Regions from separate parts of the Homo sapiens genome. Here regions 2, 3, 4, 5, 6 and 7 are each linked to region 1. Evidence: promoter capture Hi-C in 16 types of primary human blood cells and fetal thymus (Javierre and others, 2016). All regions are on one chromosome and are shown on one strand. Each heading gives the region's core, a stretch centred on a gene start or on the middle of the fragment in contact. The rest is flanking DNA. Distances are from core to core; before and after follow the strand shown. Region 1 holds the start of RXYLT1 (ribitol xylosyltransferase 1). Region 2 has its middle 3.6 kb from the start of GNS. Region 3 has its middle 69 kb from the start of AVPR1A. Region 4 has its middle 52 kb from the start of AVPR1A. Region 5 has its middle 29 kb from the start of AVPR1A. Region 6 overlaps AVPR1A (arginine vasopressin receptor 1A). Region 7 overlaps C12orf56 (chromosome 12 open reading frame 56).

Region 1 (2,736 bases), core at 113-2,612:
CAAATTATGAAATAAATTATATTAAAATGAATTTCATATCAATAAAATACATTTTATAATGCTTTTTACATGTCTTCCTTCTACGTATTAACTTACCAATGGCAGCTTTGCCCCAGATTTGTACACTGAGATCTGTTTTTCCTTTCGTGGATTTATCTAATATTTGAAGGCTAGTTTTAAATCTGTGTTGTTGCTCATTTTTTTCATCTCCTTCCCAAGGATTCCATTCTTCACTTTCCAAAGTGGACTGTTCTGTTTTAAAAAGAGTAAGTGTTTACCAGTAAGGTATTATTGCAGTTGTAGGTAAATTCAAATCATTTAAATTAAGTGTTAGTTCTAATTTCATCCTAACTTTAATTTCTGAGAGGTACAGCAACTGAATTTAAACTGGTAATACACAATGAAAACAAAAAAGAAAATCAGCAATTTTTTTACTGAACTTTTTTTACTCTGAAAAGTCTTAGAAATAAAATGCTACCTTGAGACAGGAAAATTCTCTTCCCCAACACAAAACCTTTAAAAATAACAGGATAATATGTATCAAGTTACAAGCTTAACTTTTGCAATTATTTTTATCCATTGTATACAGGTAACCTATGCACAAAAAACTGACTTCAGAGTGTAGTGTTCACCAGTCTTAGATACTATCGTGCAAAATTCTGAATAAAGGGAAAGAGAAAGCCGAGTCTGATCTTAACACAAGTTAAAACACAGGACAGGGGACCAGAATTTGGAGGTAAAGTCTGCCTTATGGTCACTGCAGGATTAGAGAGGGCTTTGTTTCAACATGGAAACGGATGTCTTAAACCTTGCGGCGATTTTGAGGCCTTCCAGGAGCATTCCCGCAAATCTCTGGCATTTGAGACGACGTCTTGGATTTTAACACGTGTTTGAAAGGCGTGCGCGCCTGTCACCCCCTGGGATCGGGAGCGGGGACGGCGTGTGAGATCTGGGTAAGAATGAGGACCATTCTCCAATTCCGAGCCAAGGGCTGGCTCGAGAGGCTGTAGGGGGCAAAGCGCTTCTCAGGCCCTGCGGGTAATCCCGGACTTGAGAGCCGGGTGCGGGGACCCGGCCCCAGCCGCCCAGCAGCCCCAGCCAGGAGCGCAGAGCCGGAAGGAAGCCGCCGACCCAGTCCTACCTCGGCCGCGTCTCTCCCGCGCGGGGGCCGCCCCCTTCCTGAGGCCCCGCGGGGACCCGGCCGGCGCCTGGCGGCGGCGCCCGAAGAAGACGTGGTAGGCAGCGTAGAGGGAGAATAGGCAGTACAGGGCGATAAGAAACGAGCAGAGCCGCTTCCGCGTCAGCCGCATCCCACTCGGGCTTCCAGTCAGGCATCCACCGCCATGGAGCGGGCGGAAAGAGAATCCGCGACACCGGCGGCGTCCGAGGCAGGCCCAGCCCGTTTCCAGGCAGTCCCCAGCCAAGGCTCCTCCGCCCAGCGCCCGGTACAGCCCCGCCCCGGACACGCCCACCGCCCGCCTCCCGCCCAGGCCCCGCCCCCTCCAGTCGCGGCTCATCCACCCGGCCGAGGGCCTGCCCACCTTCGACACTGGAGGAGGGGGTACTGGAGCGGCCCCTACCCCACGCTGCTTCCAGACGCCGGGCTGAGTGGGAACCTCTCTGACCTCTGCCGTGTACTCATTGCACCTTTCAACCCTGGCCACTTTTCCCAAGTACATAAAGACTCGGGGGAAAAAGAACACCCGCGGTGGTCCATGAAGGCCATGTGAAGGCATGGACTGTGACGTTTTTTGCTCTGCATGGAATCCCTAGCGCCTAGGACAGTGCCTACTACGTTGATAGATGAGTGAATATAAACGTCCTTTAAAAAAATTAAGTGATGATGGTCGCTTAACATTGTGAATGTAATTAATACCACTCACTTGTATGCATAGAAATAGTTAAACTGTCGAATTCATGTTTTATATACCTTACTGCAATAAAAACATTTTTAAAGTTAAGTTTCATTATTATGTGAGTTGAACGCACATAGGCATGCAGTATTTTGTCAAATAGAGGCTGTAAATGTGAATGCTTCAGAAAACTTTGTATCCAGCCTTGGGAAGATGGGCTACAATGTTTTGTCAGTTGCTCTGGTACTACTGTTCAAATTACCCAGCAGTCTTGCGACGGTATGTCTGCTAATTAGGGTGACCAATGGTCCCAGTTTGCCCAGGACTGTAAGGATTCTCCAGTTGGAGGATTTTTAGTGCTAAAATTGAGAAAGTCCTAGGAAATCAGTAAAATTGGTCACTCTAGCACCGACCCTAAACTATTAGGTCAAACACTTTACCCAATCCCCCAAACAGTTCCCTGCCTCAAAAGACCTGTTTTAAACCATTTTTGCTCAGACTCCCCAAATCCTATAAATATCACCCCCAACCTTCTCCTTCTGAGACTGCCAAGCTTCTGTCAAAGTGTGGCCTCCCTTACTGTAGTAGATTTAATAAATTTAGCTTTCCTTGATTAACAGGCTATTCTGGTGTCTTAGGGAGATGGCAGTTGTTTTATGTATGCTGTATTGTTGTTTATCCTATTTTGTTTGTTTGTGGAAATGACAATTATTTAAGGATAGGAAGTAATTACCTTATAATTACCACAAAACACCCACTGTATCAATGTACATTCAGATGCTACTGACTAATGGTTTTACTATTGAGAAATGCATACAAGGTAAAACTAATATGCAGTTGATGTCATCTTGAATAGGGGAGAGGGCCATGAAAATGAAGGAGT
Region 2 (2,736 bases), core at 131-2,630, 980 kb before region 1:
CTTCAGAGGTCATGATGAAAAGTACTATTGTTCCTATAATGAAAATTCCACAGGAATTTTTCAACTAATAGCTGAATTGGATGCATTTTTGCTTAAGCTCTTGGAAAAACATGTCAAAATGAAAACACAACTTATTTTACTAAAACAATTTATGGAAAAAATTGAAATAATGAAAAAAATGTTTAAAAAGTGGTAAGTCAAACACATAACCAAACACCAAATACTATTATGTATTCTATTCTGGATATGACAACCACTGATGAGTTGGCAATTATTGGGCACTACTTTCTAACAGGAAAACCTATGAGCAATTTTTAAATATTTTTAGCCAACTGAAAACATCTGAGACATTATTCAACAAAGTAAAACAAGATTGTTATTTTAACCTGTGGTTAAACAGCATTTATAATCAGTCATCTGTTAACACAGCTATTATAATGATTAGGAAAAAGGGCTGCATGCTCTTTAAAAAACAGCTTGGCTAGGCTGGGCATGGTGGCTCACGCCTGTAATCCCAGCACCTTGGGAGGCCAAGGTGGGTGGATCACCTGAGGTCAGGAGTTCAAGACCAGCCTGAGGTCAGGAGTTCGAGACCAGACCAATATGGTGAAACACTGTCTCTACTAAAAATACAAAAATTAGCTGGATGTGGTGGTGTACACCTGTAATCCCAGCTACTTGGGAGGCTGAGGCAGGAGAATCGCTTGAACCTGAGAGGTGGAGGTTGTAGTGAGCCGAGATCATGCCACTGCACTCTAGCCTGGTGACAGAGCAAGACTCTGTCTCAAAAAAAAAAAAAAAAATTAATAGGATACAAAACCAAAGTGATAAAGATGAATGAGAAAGTAAAGAGAAATTATCCTGACATTAAGAAGTAAAGAGTAACCAAAAAAAGTTTAAATCATAAGAAAAACAGTAATTCATTAAGAGGAAGAGAATAATCATTTCACACTCTATACGTATATGAAAACATCATGTTGTACACCTTAAATACACATAATTTTGTTGTCAATTATATCTCAATAAAGCTGGAAAGAGGAAGAGATAAACTGCAAATGAAAGTAATAAATAGGCTATTAAATTGACAACTTGTGAATTATATAAACTCATTGAAAAATATTCAAATTTCTTTCGATTTGATCTCACACTAGCATTGAGGAAGATAACATAAAACTCACGCCTATAATCCCAGCACTTTGGGAGGCTGAGGCGGGTAGATCACCTGAAGTCAGGAGTTCGAGACCAGCCTGGCCAACATGGCGAAACCCCATCTCTACTAAAAATACAAAAATTAGCCGGGCATAGTGACGCATGCCTGTAATCCCAGCTACTCAGGAGGCTGAGGCAGGAGAATTGCTTGAACCTGGGACGTGGAGGTTGCAGTGAGCCAAGAGCGCAGACAGATCAAGACTCCATCTCAAAAAATAAAATAATACAAAATAAAATGCAGAATGTCACGAAATGCCTATGTTAAGAGGATATTTGATAGAGTTTTCTGAAATTTGACAAAAATACTAAACATATATATAAAACCAATAATGAACTGAGGTGAAAAATAATTTTTCTGAATTATCACCAATAAAAGGCAAATACTGATCAAACACACTAGAGAAAAAACTAAATTATCTTTCTATTTTCTTTAGAAAATATTATAAACTAACATCATATGAAGAGATGATTAAAGAGCACATAGCCATATAATGTAAGGGGAAAAAAGTATGAAGAAGTATGCCTGGCAGTTACTTAATAAAAATATGTTACGTTAAATTTTTGCATTATTTGTAATATTTTTCAACTTTTAAAAATTTATAACGTTATATTTTGTTTTAGTCTAAATACATATTCAGTTGTGTACCTACTTTTGTATCTAAAATTGTTATTCTTTTTCTTAAGGAGCCTCCACTCGCCAAATGCACATAAACTTCAGGCCCCACAAAATTTGAATCTGTCCCTGTTATCCACTTTTCTCTCTACCTAATTGGTCTACCCTCACCCATGCTTGTCCTCTTCCAATCTGTTCTTCATGCCACAGTCTAAAGGATCTTCTAAAAGTTCATGTATGATTATATTTATCTTACATTCTTTCAGTAATTTCCAATTAGCCTTACTATAAAAACCCAAGTCCTTAAAATAGGATCTGGGTCCTCACCACCTCTCTCCCTCTGCTCTAACCACACTGGCTTCTTTTAGTTATTGCAATGCACCAGCTCAGAACCTTTGCATATGCTGTACTCTGTGCTTAGGAGACATTCCACCACCCCAATACTCCATTAACAAATTATCTCCTACTCAAACTTCAGATTTCACTCAAAGATCACTTCCTCAGGGCACCTTAGACTAAATCAGCCTCCCACCACCTTAAATGCTCATTGCACCCTTTACTTTTCCTTCATAGCATGTCTATTTGTAATCATATACAAGATACAAGATTAGATTGTCCATCTCTCTGCCATTAGACTGCAAATTCCATGAACGAGGGACAATGTCTCTTCAGCACTAGTGTAGCAGTGTTACCGGAAAGGGGTCCTGATCCAGACATCAAGAAAGGGTTCTTGGATCTCGAGCAAGGAAGAATTCAGGACAAGACCATAGAGTAAAGTGAAAGAAAGTTTATTAAGAAAGTAGAGGAATAAAAGAATGGCTACTCCATAGGCAGAGCAGCCCGAGGGCTACTCGTTGCCCATTTTTATGGTTATTTCTTGATGATATGCTAAACAAGGGATGGATTATTCATGC
Region 3 (2,736 bases), core at 132-2,631, 700 kb after region 1:
TAGCGAGTGCTTCCAGCCATGTGCACTATAAATCATATGATAGGGTTCATTCCTATACGTTTAGTGGACAGATACTGAGGAAAGAAATTCTGTCTGAATTATGAACTTTTGCATTTTCTTGTAGACCAAGTTCTTGTCCTAATGCCTGACACACCCGAGTGCTCAGTAAATGTTTATTTAGCATTTGGATTTGCCTGGGCAGGATGAATCCCTCCCTGTCCAGTTACTATTAACAACTTAATAGTCAATAGTTAATATTATCAACAGTAGTCAACAATGTATCATTATCACACTAAAAGTCTCAAAGTCCACCTGTCTCACAAAGACTTTCAGGCTGGGTCATAAATGTGTTTATCTTGTTCGGTGTAAAGCAATTCAACTTCCTCTTCCTATGTGCAAGTGTGCACATTTCTAAACAAGAGAATTTTAAAACTTAGATGTATTCAGTTACAACTTGTTTACCAAAATGTATATGAATGTAATTTGGAACAAGAAGAACATCCTCTTTCTACTGTCAAGATTATTTTTGTTTTAAACATGATATGTCGTGATTTCAAGCTAAGTAGATGTATCAGGGAGGCATACTTTTTTATAGAATTTAGTTTTATATACTAAAATCTAGTACTCCCATCTTAAAGTTTTATTGACTATTTTAAAATTACATTTATGAGACTGCTATATGAAAAATTTCAGTGGCATATTTTGGGTACTAAATTTATTTTACACACACAAAGCCTATCCTGGTGGCATATTTCTTCATCTAGTATATAACATCTAGGAGGATTTTTGCTGCTATTAAAGTTCAAGAAAGAATATAGGCCAGGCGTGGTGGCTCACACCTGTAGTCCCAGCACTTTGGGAGGCCGAGGCGGGCGGATCACCTGAGGTCAGGAGTTCAAGAACAGCCTGGCCAACATGATAAAACCTTGTCTCTACAAAAATACAAAAATTAGCTGGGCATGATGGTGGGTGCCTGTAATCCCAGCTACTCCGGAGGCTGAGGCAGGGTAATCTCTTGAACCTGGGAGGCGGAGGTTGTAGTGAGCTGAGATCGCACCACTGCACTCCAGCCTGGGCAACAGAGCAAAACTCCATCTCAAAAACAAACAAGAATATATAAGAGAAATAACATACCAATCAACATTTCTAGGTACACAACTATAAACGTCTTATAGAAACTAGCAAAATTATGAACTTATGAACTATTAGCCAATAGAGCACTTAGACAAAGTCCTACAAAATAACAGGAAAAGCAAAATAAATGTGACATGTCTAAAACAGTAAAGTAAAATAAAATAAAACCAAATGTGATCTGTATATTTTTTCCTAAAGATGGCATTAACTATTTAATCTCAACATTGTGAATTTACTTCCACTGAGAATAGGAAATTTGAGGGTAGGAACTTTCTCTAGTTCACCACTTTACTCAGAATCTACAATAATATCTGCATAGGCAAGATTCTGGATAATTGAATGAATCTATTTGAATGAACCTAGGCATAGAGAGATGAACAAATGATTTTTTGCCTTTATTTTACCTTGTTTTCTTCCACTCCACCCTCACTTATTGAGGACTGCATTAAAAAAATTAAGTACCCTATGTTTGCTCTAATTACAATTAGCATTTCTCCAACCAAACATCTAATGCTTATTCAGTCTCATCACTTGGATTCTTTCTTACAGGCACCTCAAATTGAATTCGTGGTCCTTCCTTGCTCCTATTCTCTCCCTCCGCTGCCTCATCATTGCTACTACCAATGTGCACAGCCATCATCACCACAATCCACCAGCTATTCAGCCATCTTTCCTTACATCTCCCCTTCCTTACTCCCTAGATCCAGTCACCACCAAGTTCCATGAATTTTATTTCCAAAATCTTTCTCAAATCCATCCACTTTTCTCTGTTTCCATTGTCACTAATCCAAGCCACTCTTTCTCTATCTGGACCTGGCAATAGGCTTTTTACTCATCTCCCTGCATTCCCACCTGCCCCACTCCAATTCATTCTTTGTACCTCAGCCAGGAAGATCTTTTTAGAACTCACACTAGATCAAGTTGGCCTCCTGTTTCAAGCCTTTCAAAACCTAACCCACCTTTCTCAGTGCCAGGACCCTGTTCAACCTCTTTTTATGTCACTGTACCTTCATCCATGACCACTATTGTGCTACATTCACAAAGACAGACAGATATTCAGGATTCAAACTAAGGACATTTAGATAGCCTTAAGGCTTGCGGCCTGGCCAGGAAGGAAGAGCTGAGATGATGCAGACAATAAAGAGATTCGTTTAATTCAATCAAGTGGTGAAGTCACCTGGGTTGAGACTTGCAGACTCAAATCAGACAGAAAAATTAGATAATGCTCAATGTGAATCCGGGACATGTGTATTGGAAGATCACACCATTTGAAAGTCACAGAATAAAAAATAAATGGCTCATATAGGTCAGTGACGAGGACAGAATCATACCTAAGACCAATCCAAAATTATGTGGCCAATGAGCACCCTCAGTGTGCTGGGATAGTTACCTCAATTTGCAAGAAAGACTAACCTTGTAATTCTTGGAATAACCAAAACATGTCCGTGATAGACCCAGGGCCACAACATGCAATTGTGGGGGAGCTGTGCAGCACCCAACTACAAGATGTGCCTCTTTCATACTAGTTAATATGAATGTTGTCTCCAGAGTTGTTTAGGAAACCACCTATGCAGCCATATATAGCCGACTTCATGAATAAGT
Region 4 (2,736 bases), core at 70-2,569, 680 kb after region 1:
TGGCCCTGCAGCAGCCATTTCAAAATAAATCAAGAAAATATATTTGGGAGTGAAATATTTTAGTTTCCTTCAACAGCTTCATAGTAAGTTCTGATACCTGCTACTTCAGAAGCATTCTGGCTACTTTTGACCCTTTACCCTTCCATATAAGTGGTGAAATAAGCATAGAAAGTTTTACGGTTTTGATTTCAATTGCATTGAATCTATAATTCAAGTTGGGAACAATTGGTGTCTTTATTATATTTTTTTTCCTTTCCATAAACATGATATGTCTCTCCATTAATTCAGGTTCTCTTTTTAAATCTCTTATCAAAATTGTATAATTTTTCCCGTGGAAATCATCTTGAAAAAAATGCCCCAAGCCATTTGAACAACTGGTTTTAGGAGATCTAGAGCTGAGATTTGAGACAGGAAGAAGCATGTGAAAGTAGAAATCCTCACTTCCAACTGGAATTAAGCCTAGATTAAACTAGGTTTGGTTCCACTGTACTTGACATGTGTGTTGAAGTCCCATTTGTACATAATGGGTAGTTGAGCCTAATAGGGAAACATGCTTGGCTTTAGATACCTCAAATAGAGCTAAAGCTCCACCACTGCCTCCTCCTTGCCTAAACTGAGACTAGTGTTCAGCTTTCCCTCCTGAGAAGTCAGTAGAAGTTGGAGTGGATACAGAGACTGGTGAGAGCCAGGAGAGAGAAGCCTGAGAAAGCAGAAGGGCCTGGGACCAGAATGCTTTTATCCCTCATGAATGATGTTGTTCTGTGGAAGAAATGGGCCATGCTGGGCTGGATGCGGTAGCTCATGCCTGTAATCCCAGCACTTTGGGAGGCCGAGGCAGGCAGATCACTCGAGGTCAGGAGTTCAAGGCCAGCCTGGCCAACATGGTGAAACCTCATCTCTATTAAAAATACAAAAATTACCCGGGCATGGTGGCGTGTGCCTGTAGTCCCAGCTGCTCATGAGGCTGAAGCAGGAGAATCACTTGAACCTGGGAGGCAGAGGTTTCAGTGAGCTGAGATCGTCCCACTGCACTCCAGCCTGGGTGACACAGCGAGAGTGTGTCTCAAAGAAAAGAAAAGAAAAAAGAAAAGAGGCAGTACTGAGCAATGAGGACTGTGGAAGGGAACCACAAGGAGGACCGTGGGAGGAGATATTTAGGAAACAAGGCAACAATCAGAAGAAAAGATCCGAAGCCAGCCCAATTTTACACTTCCATCTTTTCTCAGGAAACCGATCGCCAGGCCTCTCAGATGCCATCGGGGAGCTGAGGCTTTCTAGATCACTGCACCCAGACAATGAGATGCATCTGTTGCCTGTTGATCAATTCCCCTTCTTACCCCTCCCTAATTCCTATTTTCTTATACGTGGTTACAATAAGACGCTGGACCCTTCATTCAACCACCTGCTGCCTGTTGACCAACTCCTCTTCCTTGCCCCTTCTGTTTTCCTTCCCAGCTATGTAAACCCCTGACCTTAGTTGAGAGGGAGGGATGGATTTGAGACTTGGCTCCCATCTCCCTGGTTGACATCACCCATAAAATAATAAAGCCTTGTTCCCTGGCAACACACGTTGTTTCTTTTTGTGGGGCAAACAATGGGACCTAGACCAAACCCCTGGCGTTCAGTAACAGATCTTTGAGTAGGTATTCAGAAAATGGTGGACAACTGTTCCACAAATATCCATTGTCACCAACCCACTTAATGGCAAATGACCAATCAGAGGGAATAACCAACCAGCAGGTGGCCACCAAGACCAGAGAACATAAGGCAAACTCCCCTGGTTTCTGCCACTGCAACTGTTACCCACCAAACAGCAGGCAAAATAGGCTTTATACAAGACACAAAGGAGGAGACTTGCCAGTGGGTATAAATTCAACAGTGATCATCACCCAGCTATTTAGTTAGCCCAACAAGATGCAAGAGCCAGAGCATCTGAGATCAATTCAGAAAGTGTGCGTCATGAAGACCCATACTATGCTGGTCCTCATGATTTGGCTTGTTTCTGGGATAGAATTTGAAACACAAGGAGAAATCAGTGGCTCCTGTCCTCAAGGCACTCCTTTGAGAGTTGGTCACCAGGAATTTGGATTTATGCTTCCTGGCAAAAATAATTCAATAAGATTTAGCAAAGCGAGGCATGGTGGTGCATGCCTGTAGTACCAGCTGCTTGGGAGGCTGAAGTGGGAGGATCACTTGAACCCAGGAGTTCGAGGCTGCAGTGTGCTATGCTCATCCTTGTGAATCGTGGCTGCGCTCCAGCCTGGGCAACACAGTGAGACCCTCTTCTAAAAAAAAAAAAAAAGATTCATTGAGCAGCTGAGGAGAAGATAGCACAAGCATGTTATCTTGCAAAAATCAAGATGCCAAGCCAGGGCTCATGTTCTTTATGGAGATCTACCTTACCTTTGCACAGAAATAGGCTGAGGGAGTCCCCTGGTCTGGGTCCAGCTTTCCTCAGAAAACGGTTCTGGTACTGGTCCCACTCACAATTACACAATGAAAGCTCAAGATATTCCTTTAGCCTGAAATTTCCAAAAGTACCAGTTAACAATTTCCCACCACAACCATTAAAACTTCATAAATGCTTGAAATGTCAAATTTTAAACAATGAAACTTTCTGATGAGCTTTTTAACATAATTTAACTGAAAAAAAATGTACTCCCAGGTGACTGAATATACTGACCAATTACATAAGCCAATTAAAGGCTGCTAACAAAAAATGATTATTTTTGCTTT
Region 5 (2,736 bases), core at 159-2,658, 660 kb after region 1:
GTGACTTTGCCCAGGGAGGCAGGGAAGTTACAAATACAGGGCCACACATGAGCTGAGGCTCCAAGCTACCCACCCATGCTCTGTTGTCCTGCTGGACTTCACTTACAAAACATGAACTTAAAGGTAAAATTAAGAATTTTAGGATGGCAACTGCAGACCATTAAACTTCAAGAGGGATGGGAAGAATTCTGAACTTGAGGCCCTGTGTCCCTAGGTTCCCACAGTTCCCATACCAATGAAGCCAGCCCTTTCTCATGTCAGGGAACTTCACAGGCGGAAGCCTTTTGGGACCCTTCACAGTACTCCGAGATGCCTGCCATGATAGAGTCAACATTTGGACAGGCGTTTCAGAAATGTGATCAATAGCAAATCAGTAGTAACCAGGAAAACTGTCTGCCATTCGGGGAGAAGACTGCAACCCTGTCCAGAGGAGTAAGAGATATTTCCTCTTTTTGCTCTTCTCCCTGACCCAAGAACTGGAAGAGCTAGCCCTCAAAAAGGGAGGAGGGATAAGTTTGTAATGAGACAACCCCCTCACCACCAATTAAAGCCAGTGGCAGGTTTGGTCTTTATTAGTGGAAAGGAAGGAGAGCTCTGAGTTAAGTTGAGATTGAAATTTTAAACTGCATAGGGTTAAAATTACTTTTTTAAACATCACTGCAACTTACAAAATCTGGCCAACTTGTAATTAAAGGAACTGCTCCCCACTGGAAAGTGGGTTCAACATGGCCCAGTTAGAAAGCAGTTATTGGGGAACAAAAGGCATTTTGTGGTTGTGCCCTAAGGAGTGAGATGTTTCAATAAATTGGCAACATGAACTTGGTCACAGTGGCCCAGCTGGACTCACACAATATGCACACTCCCGCACAGGTGAGGCATGTGCAACCTCAGGGCCTTCTAGACCCAATGAGTGAAGAAGAGGAGAGAAGGTGATCTTTGTTGCTGTCAACACCTGCGTGGCCCATAGCAGAAGGGTCAAAGAGCACACAGCAGCAAAAGGACTAGGACGTTGAAAGTACCTAGGTAATTGAGAACAAGGGCAACTATCATCAACCTAAGTTACATACTCCAGATGGTGTTTGAGGTCAAAGTCAGAAGCTTAGAGTAAATCTGTAAGTCAACTACTGAGCATCTACCAATGGGGAGGCCAAGAAAAATAAAACATACTCCATTCCCTCCAAGTTAAGACCCTATATATAGATGCATAATGTATCACCCAGCTCCTATTACCAGCTAAAAGTACAATTAAAAATAGGGAAAGAAAGAAATTAGCAAAGACTGCAATAATCAGTGGAGGATCCATAGAAAAGAGAGGACTTCAACACACAGGCTTTGTTTCGACAGAAGAAAAAAGCAGGGTGGTCCAGGCAATCAGGACAGCATAGGCAAGAACTCATTAGTATTGAGTGTGAAATGCAGCCTCAATGACACAGAAGATAAAAGCAGGAAAACAGACAGGTGCAGTATAAGCCTGGATAGATGGGGGAGTGCTTACAAAGCCTGTAAAGGAGAGAAACACCCTACGCACTGTCCAAATGCTTTTTATAAACTATCTCATTTAATTCTTATAAAAATTCTAGAAGTAGTTTTGAAGTCACCAAGACAACTCTCAGATTTAATCACACATTTCCCACTTTCTTAGCTTAAACTATTTGGTGTAGCCCAAGGGCTTAGATAAACAAAAACATTCTTAACAGGCAGTATATTCTAGAAGCTTAGAGGTTATCTCCCAGGAGTAGAGTAAGGACTAAACCTTTCTTTGGAATGTGCAGGATTTAGACTGTGCAGACCTGCTGGATTAACCCTTTACCACACAAGTAGACACTATTTTATAGTTGAGGAAACTGAGACTGCAAGGTCAGGTTACTTTTCAACATCTTATAGATGGTATACCCAAGGTTTGAATCTGCATTTGTTTGAATCCAAAATCTGTACTTTCCACAATAACACATGACCACCTCTAGAGAGGGTCCTGAAAGCTAAACTGGTGATTAAACAGGTCTGAAAAAATTAGGTCAAATATCTAAAGCAAGGAAATGGCATATGGAAATTAGTGTTCTAGAATCTCAGAATTACCTTTCAATATTAAGGGGGAAAAATGATTTGTATAAGGGAAGAGACAGATACCAGCCCAGAGATATTTGCAGTAATCCAAGTATAATATAATAAGCTAATAGAATACGAATATAGAGGAAGATATCTGAGATATTTACAAAAAAAATTACCGGACTTTGTCAAAGACTAGATATTGGGAAGAAAAAGAAGGGAGAGTAGAAGATTATACCAGAATGTCTCATGATATTTACTACCTTTTTTTTTTTTTTTTTGAGATGGAGTCTTGCCTTGTCACCCAGGCTGGAGCGCAGTGACGTGATCTTGGCTCACTGCAACCTCCGCCTCCCAGGTTCAAGCAACTCTCCTGCCTCAGCCTCCCAAGTAGCGGGGACTACAGGTGCGCACCACCACACCCGGCTAATTTTTGTATTTTTAGTAGAGATTGGGCTTCACCATGCTGGCCAGGTTGGTCTTGAACTCCACAATTCCTGATCTGCCCACCTCGACCTCCCAAAGTGTTGGGATTACAGGCATGAGCCACTGTGCCTAGTGATATTTACTACTCTTAATTGTTTGTTTTACATCTGAGAGCTTCTTTAATCTTCATGATGATGTTGTAAGGTTGGAATTATTGTTCCATCTTCAAAGGTAAGGAAACTGAGACTTGAAGTTAAGCAACTT
Region 6 (2,736 bases), core at 62-2,561, 630 kb after region 1:
AGCTGCTGTAATCCCTGGATATACATGTTTTTTAGTGGCCATCTCCTTCAAGACTGTGTTCAAAGCTTCCCATGCTGCCAAAACATGAAGGAAAAATTCAACAAAGAAGATACTGACAGTATGAGCAGAAGACAGACTTTTTATTCTAACAATCGAAGCCCAACAAACAGTACGGGTATGTGGAAGGACTCGCCTAAATCTTCCAAGTCCATCAAATTCATTCCTGTTTCAACTTGAGCCTTGCATTCATGCAACTTGATTCTTGTGATTGACTTTTTGGCTCATTAGCTGAATTGAGCTAGAAATCACAAGAACAAATACACTTTATTAATATAACCATAAATCAATTCATTGTGTATGAGACTGTGTTTCTAGTTGCATTTTCATATTGCTACCAAAAACTAGACATTATTTTGTATGGAATATTAATGGAAACATGCTGTACTAAAATATGCAGGTCTGATTCCCAGAAATACAACAGAAGTTATATTTTTAAAGGAAAAATCATAACCACCCTAGCTTTATATTTTGTTGTTAGTTTCTTTTATTTTCATTTCTAACATAAGTAAGACTTGATTGGTTTAAAAGTCACATAAAATGCGGCACTATTTCTGAACAAAGAGAGCTCATCATCAGTCTTAATATTCAGAGAAAACTTCAGAGAAATTATGTTTTCATCCATTAAAATTAATTTGTGCATCAGAAAATGCAGCCTTAAACAGTGTCCAGGAGATGGGATGGTACCTCCTAGGAGTACAAGTGCCTGGGGTGTAATGAGCTCCTGCTCATTGTGGCCAGTTTAGAGTTCTATTAGAAGCTATCAATCACCTTGCATTTCAAAATGGTAACTTTACAACTGGCAGTGGCCTCCTTTTGGTTCCTCACATATTATTGGTCAAGAAAAGCATGAAAACTGAGATGCTGAAGGTGAGAGGAAATGTTGACTGGCCAAAAATATCTTTTTTCCCCCACTGCGAGGTTGTTTTAAAGTCAGATTTGTATAAGGAAAGCCAAATTTTATTAAAAGAGTAGAAAAGGATTGCTTAAGGTACTCTGGACTTTCTCTTGGACATTGTAAACGTATTTTGATCAGTGTTACAAGGGTATCCTGTGCTATGCTGGACATTAACAAGATCATTATCTTCATGTTTGGGGAATTCAGATTCATAATATGAGTATCCTAAAGAGTGACTCAGGATATAAAGTGTCCCAACATGTTTAATTAAAAATAGCTTTGTCTTTCCAATCTCTCACTCATCTAACAATTGCAAAGCAGAGATGAGACAGGGTTGGGACATGGGTGACAGATGGAAAGAGAACTGCTCTGTGCCCAGACTGGCTTCCTTCATTATTAAATCCACAACTTTAGGCAAGTTTCTTAAACACATATAAAGCCTCTGTTTCCTTGACTTACCGTGGGGTTGATAACACTTACCTCACAGGGTTGTTGTAAGGACTAAATGAAATCAAATATGTTAAAAGAGCTTCAGAAATAGTAAAGTACTATACACATGCTAGCAGTTGCTTTTATTATAGCCTTGGGATCTCCAAAATTGCACAGATGTTTTCCAGTTTATTTTTCATTAACTAGAATTGGTTCATTTCATGGCTGGGATATAAAATCCTAAAATTTAAATATAGATCGCTGATTCATTGGACAACATTTCCAGTGACTGCTCAGCTTGACTTCTCCTGCCTGACTAAAGTTTTCCAATTTAAAGACAGAACTTGCTTTTCTTTGAATGCAGGTAGATCAAAGCCACCCACAAGCATCAATTTTTTCCATTTTTAAACGGAGACCAATTACACTACTTTGCTGTTATTACATTTTTCATTAATGGAACTCAGTGATTTTTTTCCTAGCTATTTTGTCTGGCTGCTTCTTCTTCTTAGAGATCATGCAATGATTTGAGGATACATCATAAATATTTTGCATCCTTAAGAGGAAGTAATAGTTGCTTTTTTTTTTTTTGAAACAGAGTCTTGCTCTTTTGCCAGGCTGGAGTGCAGTGGCGTGATCTCGGCTCACTGCAACCTCCGCTTCCTGGGTTCAAGCGATTCTCCTGCCTCAGCCTCCCGAGTAGCTGGGACTATATGCATGTGCCACCACACCCAGCTAATTTTTATATTTTTAGTAGAGATGGGGTTTCACCATGTTGGCCAGCATGGTTTTAATAGTATTATTGAGTTTCTTTTTTTACCTTTGTAGATAAGAAAATGAGAACTGGATAGCACTGTGAGAACCCGGAAGCGATAACTTCACTCCTCTTCATTCTTCTGCCTTTTGAAATTCTCAGCCCTTAGGCTCCTTGTATTGATAGGCCTAAAAACATGTTTCCAAATGCTTTATAGAGATTATAAACCTAGGGACTCCCTAGGTTTTCAAATTCTTCTTTCTAAAAATAACAAATATGTCTCTTAAAGGGTACTGTCCAATATAAGCCATAACTAAATTAATTAATTCATTATTTGAGTTAGAGTAGCATCTCAGTAACCCAGCACTCGAAGACTGTCAGTCCTTTTAACAACTCTTTGATAGTTCAAAAACTAAAGCTTTTTGGTTTGGAACTAAGATGAACCCATTTTTTTCTAAATCCATTTCCAAAGTAAGAACCTCAGAACCTATAGATCTTGCTTCAAAATGTTGATATGTACCCCCAAGCAAAACAATTCAATTTGAATGTTATTTCTGAGAACAGCTCACAAAAAAAAGTGCATATCACCCTACCCAGTTGT
Region 7 (2,736 bases), core at 100-2,599, 520 kb before region 1:
CCCTCGACAGTGGGGATTACAATTCAAGATGAGATTTGGGTGGGAACACAGAACCAGAACATATCAGGCTACCATCTGGATAAGGTGGGCACTGGGAAAATGAATCCAGATGTAGATGCTCATGGAAAAGGCACAGTGCCCAAAGGTGAGAGTGATCTCTACATAAGAGTGAGCAAAATGAAATATCAGGATATTTTAGCATGTGGGTGAATTACAACTGGATGTCTGCACAAACATTTGGCACCAGGAAGATCTGCTTGTTTAGGGTGTGGGAACAGGGTTTTATGGAATGTGAGGACATAAAGATTGTCAAGAGTAAAGCCAGCAGTTAGGAGAGGACTGGGAAAGGACTTAGGACAGTGCTCAAAGGGGAAGTCCACCCAGATACACTGGACACAATCAGGGACTGGATTTAAAGTGCATGTCTAGGTAGGAGAACTGAAGTACCACTTAAGGGTTAGATTAAGAAGGATGTTGATGTGTATTCCTAATGGGATCAGCACCAGTGTTAGTCTGGAGGTCATTTAAGCATCTTCAGTTTAAAAACAGGCCTGATACCTGTGGCCTAGGCTGTGGAACAAAAAAAGAATGGAGAGAAAGAGAGTAAGGTTAGGATTCACAGACCTGACCCGCCACTTCATCTTCTCTCTCACCTCTGTCCTCTACAAGATCGAGCCATGTAGGATAACTTGGATACTTGTTCTCCTTAGCTCTCCTTTCTCCCTGCTGCTTGCTTTCTCTAGAATACTCTTCTTCTAATTTCTCTTGTTAAAAATCATACCCATTCATCAAGGCTCAGCTCAAATGCCATTTTCTGCCTTTCCTGTCATGCCTAATGGGGAACTTTAGTACCTTCCTCCTTTTGATCTTCTCTGTCAATTCCATGCCATAGAACTTTCTTTGAAGTTTTATAATCTGCATTGTTCAATACAGCAGACACTAGCCACATGTGGCTATTAAGCACTTGAATGTGACTAGTGACTAAAAAAGTAAAACGTTAATTTTATTAAATTTACATTAATTTAAATAGACACTTGTGGGCAGTAGCTACCGAGTTGAACAATGTAGTTCTATGACATCTTTCATAGCACTTCCTCTTTAACAATTAACAGACAGTTTTCATGCCTAATCTGTGTGAGGCTTGGTGATAGGTATTAGAAATATAGCATGATTATGATACAGTTTCTACCATCGAGAATTAGCACAGATATCCTCCCTTTTACTATAGTGATTGGCACATTTTTCTTATTTATCTTAATATGCTAAAAGCTTCTTTAGGACAAGTATATGTCTTACTTATCTTTGTATTCTCCCTCAGGCCAAAACACAATGCATGCATATTCCAGGTGCTGTAAGTTATTCATACTGAATTGCAAATCTGTTCTCTTGTGAAATATTAACCTAATCCAATGTCTAAAAATGAAGCTTTCATGATCTGTTTTATACTTGAAAACACTGCAGCCATTATTTAATATAATATTCTTACCTGGGCTAAAACAAATCTTCTAATTCAGTTATCAAAAATGAAAGGCCAAAGTGAATGGAGAAGGAAATAATTCAGATAGGAAAAGGGGAAGTCAAATTGTCTCTGTTCACAGATGACATGATTGTATATTTAGAAAACCTCACCGTCTCAGCCCAAATCTCCTTAAGCTTATCAAAGCAACTTCAGCAAAGTCTCAGGATACGAAATCAATGCACAAAAATCACAAGCATTCCTATACACCAATAACAGACAAACAGAGAGCCAAATCATGAGTGAACTCCCATTCACAATTGCTACTAAGAGAATAAAATACCTAGGAATACAACTTACAAGGAATGTGAAGGACCTCTTCAAGGAGAACTACAAACCACTGCTCAAGGAAATAAGGGAGGACACAAACAAATGGAAAAACATTTCATGCTCATGGATAGGAAGAATCAATATCGTGAAAATGGCCATAACTGCCCAAAGTAATTTATAGATTCAATGCTATCCCCATCAAGCTACCTATTGACTTTCTCCACAGAATTGGAAAGAACTGCTTTAAAGTTCATATGGAACCAAAAAAGAGCCCGCATAGCCAAGACAATCCTAAGCATAAAGAACAAAGCTGGAGGCATCACACTACCTGACTTCAAACTATACTACAAGGCTACAGTAACCAAAAGAGCATGGTACTGGTACCAAAACAGACATATAGACCAATGGAACAGAACAGAGCCCTCAGAAATAACACCACACATCTACAACCATCTGATCTTTGACAAACCTGACACAAACAAGCAATGGGGAAAGGATTCCCTATTTAATAAATGGTGCTGGGAAAACTGGCTAGCCATATGCAGAAAACTGAAACTGGACCCCTTCCTTACACCTTATACAAAAATTAACTCAAGGTGGATTAAAGACTTAAACATAAGACCTAAAACCATAAAAGTCCTAGAAGAAAACCTAGGCAATACCATTCAGGACACAGGCATGGGCAAAGACTTCATATCTAAAACATCAAAAGCAATGGCAACAAAAGCCAAAATTGACAAATGGGATCTAATTAAACTAAAGAGCTTCTGCACAGCAAAAGAAACTATCATCAGAGTGAACAGACAACCTACAGAACGAGAGAAAATTTTTGCAATCTATCCATCTGACAAAGGGCTAATATCCAGAATCTACAAAGGACGTAAACAAATTTACAAGCAAAAAACAACCCCATCAAAAAGTGGGCAAAGGATATGAACAGACACTTCTCA

The links. Contacts are between HindIII fragments. The CHiCAGO score rates a contact against its expected background, and 5 or more counts as called.
Region 2: a fragment that was not itself captured here is called in contact with the fragment with the promoter of RXYLT1 in region 1 in 1 of 17 cell types (non-activated CD4 T cells); the score reaches 5.8 in non-activated CD4 T cells.
Region 3: a contact is called between a fragment that was not itself captured here and the fragment with the promoter of RXYLT1 in region 1, in 1 of 17 cell types (M0 macrophages). The highest score is 5.7, in M0 macrophages.
Region 4: a contact is called between a fragment that was not itself captured here and the fragment with the promoter of RXYLT1 in region 1, in 6 of 17 cell types (megakaryocytes, M2 macrophages, M0 macrophages and 3 more). The highest score is 10.1, in megakaryocytes.
Region 5: a fragment that was not itself captured here is called in contact with the fragment with the promoter of RXYLT1 in region 1 in 1 of 17 cell types (megakaryocytes); the score reaches 6.1 in megakaryocytes.
Region 6: a fragment that was not itself captured here is called in contact with the fragment with the promoter of RXYLT1 in region 1 in 2 of 17 cell types (megakaryocytes and fetal thymus); the score reaches 7.4 in megakaryocytes.
Region 7: a contact is called between a fragment that was not itself captured here and the fragment with the promoter of RXYLT1 in region 1, in 1 of 17 cell types (M1 macrophages). The highest score is 6.1, in M1 macrophages.

Annotation. Positions count from the first base shown.
Region 1 is chr12:63,778,535-63,781,270 of GRCh38, reverse strand. It overlaps RXYLT1 (ribitol xylosyltransferase 1), which reads right to left and starts at 1,362. Exons shown (of 6, transcript NM_014254.3): 1 at 1,142-1,362; 2 at 97-252. The coding sequence starts at 1,310. RefSeq lists silencers at 994-1,293, 1,022-1,297, 1,314-1,543. The HindIII fragment of the contact is 1,854 bases long and covers 555-2,408 here.
Region 2 is chr12:64,761,678-64,764,413 of GRCh38, reverse strand. It overlaps a transcript of TBC1D30 not described here. Among named protein-coding and RNA genes, the nearest start is that of GNS, 3.6 kb to the right of the region's middle. The HindIII fragment of the contact is 4,032 bases long and covers 1-2,736 here.
Region 3 is chr12:63,080,792-63,083,527 of GRCh38, reverse strand. No RefSeq gene overlaps it. Among named protein-coding and RNA genes, the nearest start is that of AVPR1A, 69 kb to the left of the region's middle. The HindIII fragment of the contact is 3,980 bases long and covers 1-2,736 here.
Region 4 is chr12:63,098,063-63,100,798 of GRCh38, reverse strand. No RefSeq gene overlaps it. Among named protein-coding and RNA genes, the nearest start is that of AVPR1A, 52 kb to the left of the region's middle. The HindIII fragment of the contact is 3,259 bases long and covers 1-2,736 here.
Region 5 is chr12:63,120,676-63,123,411 of GRCh38, reverse strand. No RefSeq gene overlaps it. Among named protein-coding and RNA genes, the nearest start is that of AVPR1A, 29 kb to the left of the region's middle. The HindIII fragment of the contact is 616 bases long and covers 1,101-1,716 here.
Region 6 is chr12:63,144,860-63,147,595 of GRCh38, reverse strand. It overlaps AVPR1A (arginine vasopressin receptor 1A), which reads left to right. Exons shown (of 2, transcript NM_000706.5): 2 at 1-2,736. The coding sequence ends at 237. Among named protein-coding and RNA genes, the nearest start is that of AVPR1A, 5.0 kb to the left of the region's middle. The HindIII fragment of the contact is 2,488 bases long and covers 68-2,555 here.
Region 7 is chr12:64,298,186-64,300,921 of GRCh38, reverse strand. All of the region lies in intron 6 of C12orf56 (chromosome 12 open reading frame 56), which reads left to right. Among named protein-coding and RNA genes, the nearest start is that of KICS2, 77 kb to the right of the region's middle. The HindIII fragment of the contact is 156 bases long and covers 1,272-1,427 here.